Linked DNA regions of Homo sapiens: region 1 is linked to region 2. The links are contacts of gene promoters, found by promoter capture Hi-C in blood cells and fetal thymus (Javierre and others, 2016). All regions are on one chromosome and are shown on one strand. Each heading gives the region's core, a stretch centred on a gene start or on the middle of the fragment in contact. The rest is flanking DNA. Distances are from core to core; before and after follow the strand shown. Region 1 holds the start of KIF2A (kinesin family member 2A). Region 2 holds the start of ANKRA2 (ankyrin repeat family A member 2).

Evidence for each region. The method cuts DNA at HindIII sites, captures the fragments that hold promoters and counts their contacts. A CHiCAGO score of 5 or more calls a contact.
Region 1: a contact is called between the fragment with the promoter of KIF2A here and the fragment with the promoter of ANKRA2 in region 2, in 1 of 17 cell types (total CD4 T cells). The highest score is 6.8, in total CD4 T cells.

What each region holds. Positions count from the first base shown.
Region 1 is chr5:62,304,541-62,308,718 of GRCh38, reverse strand. It overlaps KIF2A (kinesin family member 2A), which reads right to left and starts at 2,513. Exons shown (of 21, transcript NM_001098511.3): 1 at 2,183-2,513. The coding sequence starts at 2,246. RefSeq lists a silencer at 1,780-2,809. The HindIII fragment of the contact is 9,341 bases long and covers 1-4,178 here.
Region 2 is chr5:73,563,391-73,567,808 of GRCh38, reverse strand. It overlaps ANKRA2 (ankyrin repeat family A member 2), which reads left to right and starts at 2,170. Exons shown (of 9, transcript NM_023039.5): 1 at 2,170-2,677. It overlaps UTP15 (UTP15 small subunit processome component), which reads right to left and starts at 2,066. Exons shown (of 13, transcript NM_032175.4): 1 at 1,897-2,066; 2 at 375-547. The coding sequence starts at 464. RefSeq lists enhancers at 1,801-2,355, 1,927-2,486, 2,497-2,706, 2,727-2,776, 2,356-2,910. The HindIII fragment of the contact is 2,502 bases long and covers 1,755-4,256 here.

The sequences.
Region 1 (4,178 bases), core at 1,264-3,763, about 11 Mb after region 2:
AAAAATATTCTACATATGAGTGAGATTATGCAATATTTTCCTTGGTGTCTGGCTTATCTCATTTAACATAACGTCCTTCAGGTCCATCTATGTTGTGGTAAACAGTAGGATCTCCTTTTTTAAGGCTGAATAATGTTCCATTGTACATTGTCTATACACACACATAAACGTATACACACACACATAATTTCTTTAGCCATTCCTCACCCATCGATGGACATTTAGGTTGCTTCCCTATCTTGGCTACTGTGAATAATGCTGCAATGAACGCGAGAGTGCAGATATCTTCACAAGGTGGTGATTTCCTCTCCCTTGGGTGTATACCAGGGACAGGTGTTGCTGTGCACCCAGAATCTTCAAAATAATATGTAAATCCTACTTTTGCTGGTATACTGTGAACTCGTATTTACCTAAAAAAATGACATTAACAGCACTCTTTCAAGAAAGTAATCTGAAGAGAAAATATAAAAGAAACCTCAACCCAAGTAAAGAAGGTATCTCTTTCCCATTAGTGTTATTGGTAATTTCTAAAGCTCTAAGCGGTATAATTTATCTTTTCATATACAGGATAACGATGGTTTCAGTTGTTACCACAAATTACTTCAAATATAACGGAGGAAAAAATCATTAGCTATATAGGGTCTTCCAATATATCATACACACAACATGAAAATCAATCTAGCTTCACGTAACTTGGTCAAACCTGGCAGAATCCAAGGGGCACGTGGACGTGACAGCCAAGTTACTACTGACTAGGCTAGGCTAAAGGTTAATAAATAAGGCACTCATAAAAGGAATCGAGGCCAGGCGCGATGGCTCACGCCTGTAATCCCAGCACATTGGGAGGCCGAGGCAGGTGGATCACTTGAGGTCAGGAGTTCGAGACCAGCCTTGTCAACATGGTGAAACCCCGTCTCTACTAAAAATACAAAAAATTAGCTGGGTGTGGTGACAACGCCTGTAATCCCAGCTACTCAGGAGGCTGAGGCACAAGAATAGCTTCAACACGGGAGGCGGAGGTTGCAGTGGGCCGAGATCGCACCACTGCACTCCAGCCTGGGTGAAAATCCGTCTCAAAAAAAAAAAAAAAGGAATCGGTATGAGAGATGGAGTCAGGAACACTGCTCAACTCGAGATTATCACACATCTCTCGTTCTTTCAATATTGGTACCGAAAGAAAATAATTTTACTTATCTCCCTCCGTGCATTTATTCCTTTACAATATGAATTATTTCCAGTCTGGCTGGCGTATCTCACTCCACACCCCAAGCTAGTGTCATAAACCATTTTCCCCAAGAGAAACCTAGAGAAAGATACATAAGCCTAAGGCTCTTAAAAAAAAAAATGAAGCATGTGTCTTCACCTCGCCTTACACTTTTCTCAGTTACCTCTCCCGAGGGTGTGAAAATATCAACATCCGGTCGCCCACCCCCACTCTCTCAGCAGTGCCTCGCATTGACTCTGCCCATCCCCTATCATTCCCTTTACAGTCTCATCACCTTGGAGAAGCCCATCGAATATTTCTTCCCATTGCTCCCCCACCCTTATTCATGGCTCAGCGCGATATTCTCCACATTTTTCTCCCAAGAAGTGGCAAAAAAGAAAGCAGCATGGTCGACGACGAAACCGGGGAGGCCTGACAACCAGACGGCAGTTTAAGGCGACGGAACTGGCTCTTTCCCCCCATCTCGGCCTCCGACCAGCAGTCGGTTCTCTAAATGTGAAATCGCTGGTCTTCCCGCTCCCCCACCCCCATCCCCATCCCCGTCAGAGGCCAAGCCGGTAAAATGCAAAGACCAAGGGGAAGCGCGAGGCAGGGTCATCCCTAACGAAGCCCGCTCCCTCCCGGGCTGGTGTCCCCGGGGGGGGGCTGGAGATTGCGGGAGGAGGAGCGAGCGGCCCTCGCCCAGAGACCCCCGGAGACGCGACCCTCGACACCCGGGCCCTTTCCCCACCCGGCTTCCCTCCCCCGCGGCCCGATCCGGAGAACTGCAGCAGCGCCCGGGCGGACCCCAAGCCGGCCTCACTGGCACACACGCCACACACAAAAGCGCCGCGGCCGCCGCCTTCCCACCCCCACAGCCCGGCGAAGCAATCAATGAGGCGGCCGGCGCCCGCGTCCCCTCCGTGCACACCCGAACACGGGGCCGAGCGGGCCAGCGGGGCTGGCAGCGCGGCTCACCATCGCTGCGCTTGATCTCCACGTAAATCCCGATCTGGATCTTGCCGAAGTTGGCCGTTGCCATCACCTCATCTGGAGCAGCAGCAGCGGGCCGAGGGAGGGGGACCGGAGGGCGGAAAAGGCGGGGAGGGGGCGGGGTAGGTGTGGGAGGGGGAGCGGTTGCCCGCGGCCGCGCCGGCCCGGGCGACAGCGTGAACGCAAGCGGGGCCGCAAGGAGCAGCTGTGGGGAAGCAGGCGGAGGCCCCGGGCCTGCAGGCCGGCAGGAGGACGCGCACGCCGGGTAGTCGGGGTGAAGCTAGGGCCGGGGCCGTGAGACGGCGCGGGGTAGAGTGGGAGGGCCCGCACCGCCCGCCGGGGAGCCGACGCTGGGGAGGCGGGGCGCCGCGCGCCTGCGCAGAGCGCGCCTCCGGCGTCTCTTCTTCCTTTTCGGCTGGCCTCTCCCCGCTGCCTCCAGGCGGCCCCGCCCAGCTCTGCAGCGGGGTGGGCGGCGGCCGCGGCTTACCCAGCCGCTGGAGCGTTGAGCGCTCGGCCCGGCCCACAGCTAGCCGGCGTCGCGTTTGATTTCAGCGCGCGGCCTAGAAGACGCGGGAAGCGTCGCGCCGAGCTTTCTTGCCCTCTCGCTTCCGGGAATTGGCGCTGTTGCCGGAATGGGTTAAAGGCCACGTGGTTTCAGGGGCTTTCTAGCGGGCTGAGGGATGTGAATTCAAGGGCCCTCCGTTGACAGTACGGGATCCGGGTTTTCATCGGAAGGTGGCACCCCCTATTTCCACTTACAGGTAGCTGACCCAAGCAGCCCTCCCAAGCACACTTGGTGTAGGTTTCCCATCCAGTTACGCTGGAAGGGAAGAAACACCCTTGAGGTGTCACCTACCCTAAATCGAAATGAAGATCCACCCCTTTACAGTCTTGCCTTATAGTTTATCACACTCAGAAAGAAGCTCTGTGGTGGGGCGTCCTTAACTGTTCAGGTTATGAGGCATCCGATGCTGGTGCCCTGTTTCTGCTGAGGGTTCAAGACTTACTTGCCTTGGCCTGTAAAGCCAACAACTGTGACTCAAGGGAAGAAGGCAGACACATAAGGTTGACTAGGGAATGTGTCTTTTTGCAATAATTTAATTAGTCTGACCACATCAGCAATGTGGAAAGCAAGACTCTCCATCCTGGCAGAGCAGGAAGGCCACGTGTACCGGGGCCCTGGAAACTGTATTTATAGCACCGTGTGAAAACCTCCAAACGTCTAACTCCTGCTTGTAGTACTGGCAATTGATAGGTTGGAAACAACACTTTTCATGGCCTACTTTCCCTAGTCATTGTTTTTTGTTGTTGTTGTTTTGTTTTGTTTGTTTTTGAGGGGGAGTCTTGCTCTGTCGCTCAGGCTGGAGTGCAGTGGCGCGATCTCCGCTCACTGCAATCTCTGCCTCCTGTGTTCAAGCGATTCTCACGCCTCAGCCTTCCGAGTAGGTGGGATTACAGGCCCGCGCCACCACGCCTGGCTAATTTTTGTATTTTTAGTAGAGACGGGGTTTCACCATGTTGGCCAGGCTGGTCTCAAACTCCTGACCTCAGGTAATCCACCCGCCTCCACCACCCAGAGTGCTGAGATTACAGGCATGAGCCACTGCGCCCGGCCTTCCCTAGTCATTGATAATCTCCCTGTAACAATAACTACAAATATACAATTTAAAATTTTAAAATTGGAAACTGGATATATACATCAATGCTTATGTGGATATATGTGTGCCTAGAGTTTTCTATCTAATGTAAGTAATCATGTAGGTCCTTAAAAAACTGTTAAAAGACTGGCTTCATCTGTAGCTTGAACATATTGAAGGTATACCTGTCAAAAGAACAATTCTATTGAATCCATTCTAAAGTGCATATAATTTCTATGGAAAAAAAACCACACTGGATAGACAATGTGGAAAATAACTTCTTTTACATTCCAGAAATGACACACTTGAGTACCCCGGTTTCAAGTGAAATTTGACCAAATCAG
Region 2 (4,418 bases), core at 921-3,420:
AAGGGCACACTGTAATTTACTATACCAGTCCACTACTAATAGACATGGGTTTTTCAAGATTTCTACTATTACAAGCAATACTTCAATAAACATCTTTACACATATGAGATTCAAATTTTAAAATTTAATTCATTTGGCATTGATTGATCATCTGTTCTGTGCTAGGCATTTGTATGGTTAATCTGATTAAGCAGTATGGACTTTTACATAAAATTCCAAGAAAAAATAGATATCAAATTATCTGCCCAAACTATAAGCTGCTGATAGATGGTTTTCAGTTAATAATTCTCTGTTAGAGCATCCAGAGTATAACATATGCTAGAGAAATTGGCATAAACACAAATCCCTTCTCCCTCATTACGTCCCACACTCACCTTATAGTTGTTCCAGTACAGTGTATCTTGGGTGATTTTTTCACCAAGTATAGGATATGTCTGAATAGCTACAGGCTTATAACCAGCCATAATTCCATATAATTGCACTATTGTCCAAGAGTCACTATTTTGGAATTGGTATTAGAAATAATTACAGTGACTCTGCCTTAATTCTGAAAAATAAAATATTTTATATACATATTATAAGCTTGTACACATAGTTGATTTTCACTCTGCTTTCTTTAAAAAGTCTGTGTGGAAGTATATAGATTAGAGACCAATAAGCCATTTAATTCTAACCCAGAAAAGGCAATCTATAGGAAGCAGGAATAATTAAAGTGAAGGCTATCATATCGCACCATCTATTCAGCTGTACACAAAGGTTCTCACACCTAGCCAACCATTTTACAACACTTAGGAATAAATCTAGCACAGCCTTACAGTAGCCAAACCAAAAAGGATCATGCTGGCTTTGAGTGTCCATTTTTTGGCAACAGGAAATATTAAGGTGAAACTGCAAATACAAGTTTCCTGAAACCAAGTTTAAGATGACATTTAATCTATAACAATTATAGTTACGGATTTGATTTCCTGAAAGCCTAAAAATGCCAAGAAGTAAGAAACACAAAGCTAATATTCTAATGTAGAAGCTTAAAATTAAATTTACTTTAAAAGGTTTAAACAGTAGGAAAGAAAACTGTAATAAAGCAGTCCTGAAATTAAATTCAACACTAAAGTGGCAGAATAGGATAAAACTTTTAAATAACATGCAATCAAGCCAAAACATTTTTCCAGAACGACTCAATTGCAAAAGAGATTCAATGTTATCAGGTAAATGATTCCAGAGGTGCTGCTCATCATCTATTCCAAAAAGCCTGAAAACTTTACATTAGTAACACCACGATAAATAGGTGTAACATATATTTAAAAGGTGCTTTAATGAAATACAATGACCAATGATTGTATTTCACTGGTCTTTGGGAACACTCTTCTGTTCATTAAAGTACCTACCAATGTGCAGGACACTGCTCTAGGCACTGGGGCTATAATGGTGAATGAAATAAAGACATGGTCTGTGCCTTTGCTTACTCCAATATACTCCATTTTGGCTGGTGACTGGCACCAGATATTAACCTAGACTCAGCCTTGACGTGTCCTTTTCTTCCTCACTCCTAACATCCAAATAGTTAACAAGATCTGCTGATTTTATCTCCCAAATATTTTAAAACTCCATTAGGTTCACTTCACCTGAGGGAGCCTCGTAAGCAAAGGCAAAGATGGAAATGTGTCCATTGCCTTGGAGAGTTGCTGATTACTCCGGGAACTAACAACGGTGGACAGGAAAGGGTGTAATCGCAGAGAAGAACCTAGGTCGAAGCTTAATTGAGGGGAACTTGAGCCGGTTAAAGAATTTGGCCACTCTCCTATATAGCCTGGGAAGCCCCAGAAGAGCATGCCAGATTAACACAGGAAGGCCGGGTGTGAGTGTGGGCTTCCCTCAATGGGAGCCGCCTTCACCTACCTCCACTGAGCCCCAAAGGGTCCGACGAGACACCTCGACCCAAGGACAATTAATCGGACTGTGCCAGCTCCCTACCCTGCACAGTTCAGCAGCACTGGCGTAAAAATCACATGGACCCTCAAGGAGCCGGCGACACACACAGCGAACCGAACGTCGCGCGAAGATGACGTACCAGAGCACGCTCATGAGACTCACGCAGCCCGGCGGCGCAGAGGCGGGTCAGGTGGGCGGGGCGATCTGGAGTAGGAGGTGTGACCGGAGGGCGAAATTGGGGCTTCCTCTGCTCTGGTGACCCAGAACCGTCAACTGAAATGACCCTGTCTGTGTAGTACTCCGGCAGGATGGGCCTCGGAGCGTAAAGGCGGCAAAAACAAAAATATTAAAAAAAAGGAGAGAGGGACAAAAAAAAGAAAACCCGAAAGTTTCAGCTGCATTGCTGCGGAACGTTTTTTAGCCAGAAGGCGAAAGAAGAAATCGGAAGTGACGTCGCGGCCAAAACAAGCCCGGGCTTGGAGGCCTGTACTGAAGCTGGCCTCAGATGGGAAGGCCCGACTCGCTGTCTGCTGTCGTCGGTGGTCGCGAGACCTTGCACTCTCACCGGGTCGGCCTCCAGCCCCTGTGCCCGGGATCCGCTCGCCGCGGATGAGCGAGAGTTTCTTCCTGGGACTTTTCGGGCACAGCTGGCCGGTGGCGACAGAACGGACTTTCTTTCCTGCAAGAGTCTCCCCTCCAGCGGGAGACAGCGGGCTCCTGTCTCGGGACGCTGGGACACCTGTCGCCTGTGAGGCATCATTTATTTTCATAGCACCTTCCTCTCCTTGTAGAATAATTCCAGGATCAGGAAGAAACGAGGGGCTCCTGTTATTAGCATCCACAGGAACTAGCATAGCTGCCCACTTTATCTCCGTAGACTCTCTATCCCTTCATCCCTGGGCTCTGACAGATCGAGGTGAACCTAGCTATCGATTGCCTTACCCCCTTTTTCTCACCACCACCTCTTCTAAGTCCTGTTACCCCACTCCCCTCACCCCCGCCTCCCTCTCCTGTTCTTCAAAATTTTGGCCTACCAATCAACTTTGCTTCTCCTCTCGTTAAACTGCTGTGCCAAGATAAGCGTTCATTTTCCACCCACCCCCTTCGCCTAAGCACATTTGCTATTCTCCTCTCGAAGACCTGTAATTCCATCTATAAACCCTGATTTGTAACATGGAAGCTGTTTAGAGCTGGAAAGAATATTAGAAAGGCCTATTTCAACACCTTTTTATAATAGATGAATTTCAGAAAACTTGTATTATTTATTTGTCCAGGAGTGGCCAGCTAGTTAGTAGCGATGTTGGGAGTGGAAAGCCAGGTCTAATCAGCAAATGTTAGAAATAGAAAAGAATATGGAAAAAATTGTTAAAGTTAAGATCAGAAAACATTTATGGAGCACCTGGTAGGACCAAGTACTGTTCTGTGTGCAAAAATTAGTAAGAGTGGTCCCCATCCTAGGGGAGTTTTCAATTTAGCTGTTATTTAAATGGAAATTGTCAAAAGGATGGTGAATGCTAAAATACAGATACATGCAGGGTGCTCAGAGAGCTTAGGGGAGTTGCACTTAGCCAACCGCTGGATAGGAGAAAGGGGGAGATGGTTCTTCCCTCAGGAAACACAGTTCACATTGTCCAGTCCCTTTTAAGACGCATGGACTAATGCATTGCACATCCATCTCCCTTTGAATCACTGAACTAATTTTCTTTTCTGGTTTCCTTCTTTTTGCCCAAATGTATTAACCTTCTTACTTCCTGCTTTTTTTTTTTTTCCTTACTATACTATGTGTTATTTATTCAACTCTCTCGTGGAGATTTTGGCTTTGTTTAGGGCTGCCTCATTTTAATGGTCAGAGTGATGGAGTCAGAAGAGCTGAGTAAGCCCTCATAATTCATGAGCTTCCTTTTTTACCCCTCCTAGGTGGACATATGATTACCTGACCTGCCTACTCAAAGGATTGTTATAAAGACTAATCTTTGAAAATGTTTTTAAAATTGTAGAAGGTGGTTATCTGTAAATGTATGGTTTCGCGACCCTTGCTCCACTGCGATCCTAATGCATTTTTCTTTTAATTCCAATTCCAATTTTGAAACACCCTGCACCCTCTCAAAATTCCTAAGAGGCAATTAACCCTAACATGAAAAAATTAACTGGATGTTATTAATTTCCTTTCTGTCCCAAATGATAATGTATCTAAGACAACTATACATCTTGGAAAGCCAATCCATAATCTACCTACTTTATTTTTCATGAAAACCTACATTAAGTTGCTAATGCTTAATCGGAACAAAAATTCATAAATGTACCTTCAGTTCATCAAAACCAAAGCTTTGTAAAGCCTTTCATGGTCTAGGAATCACAGGTGTTATAGATGACAATGCCAATAAACTTGGATACAACATGAATTATCATTTCTTAAATTCAAACTAAGGGCCACCTATATAAACATAGCATATTAAAGAACTAACCTTAGGTAAGAGATTAAAGTTTAT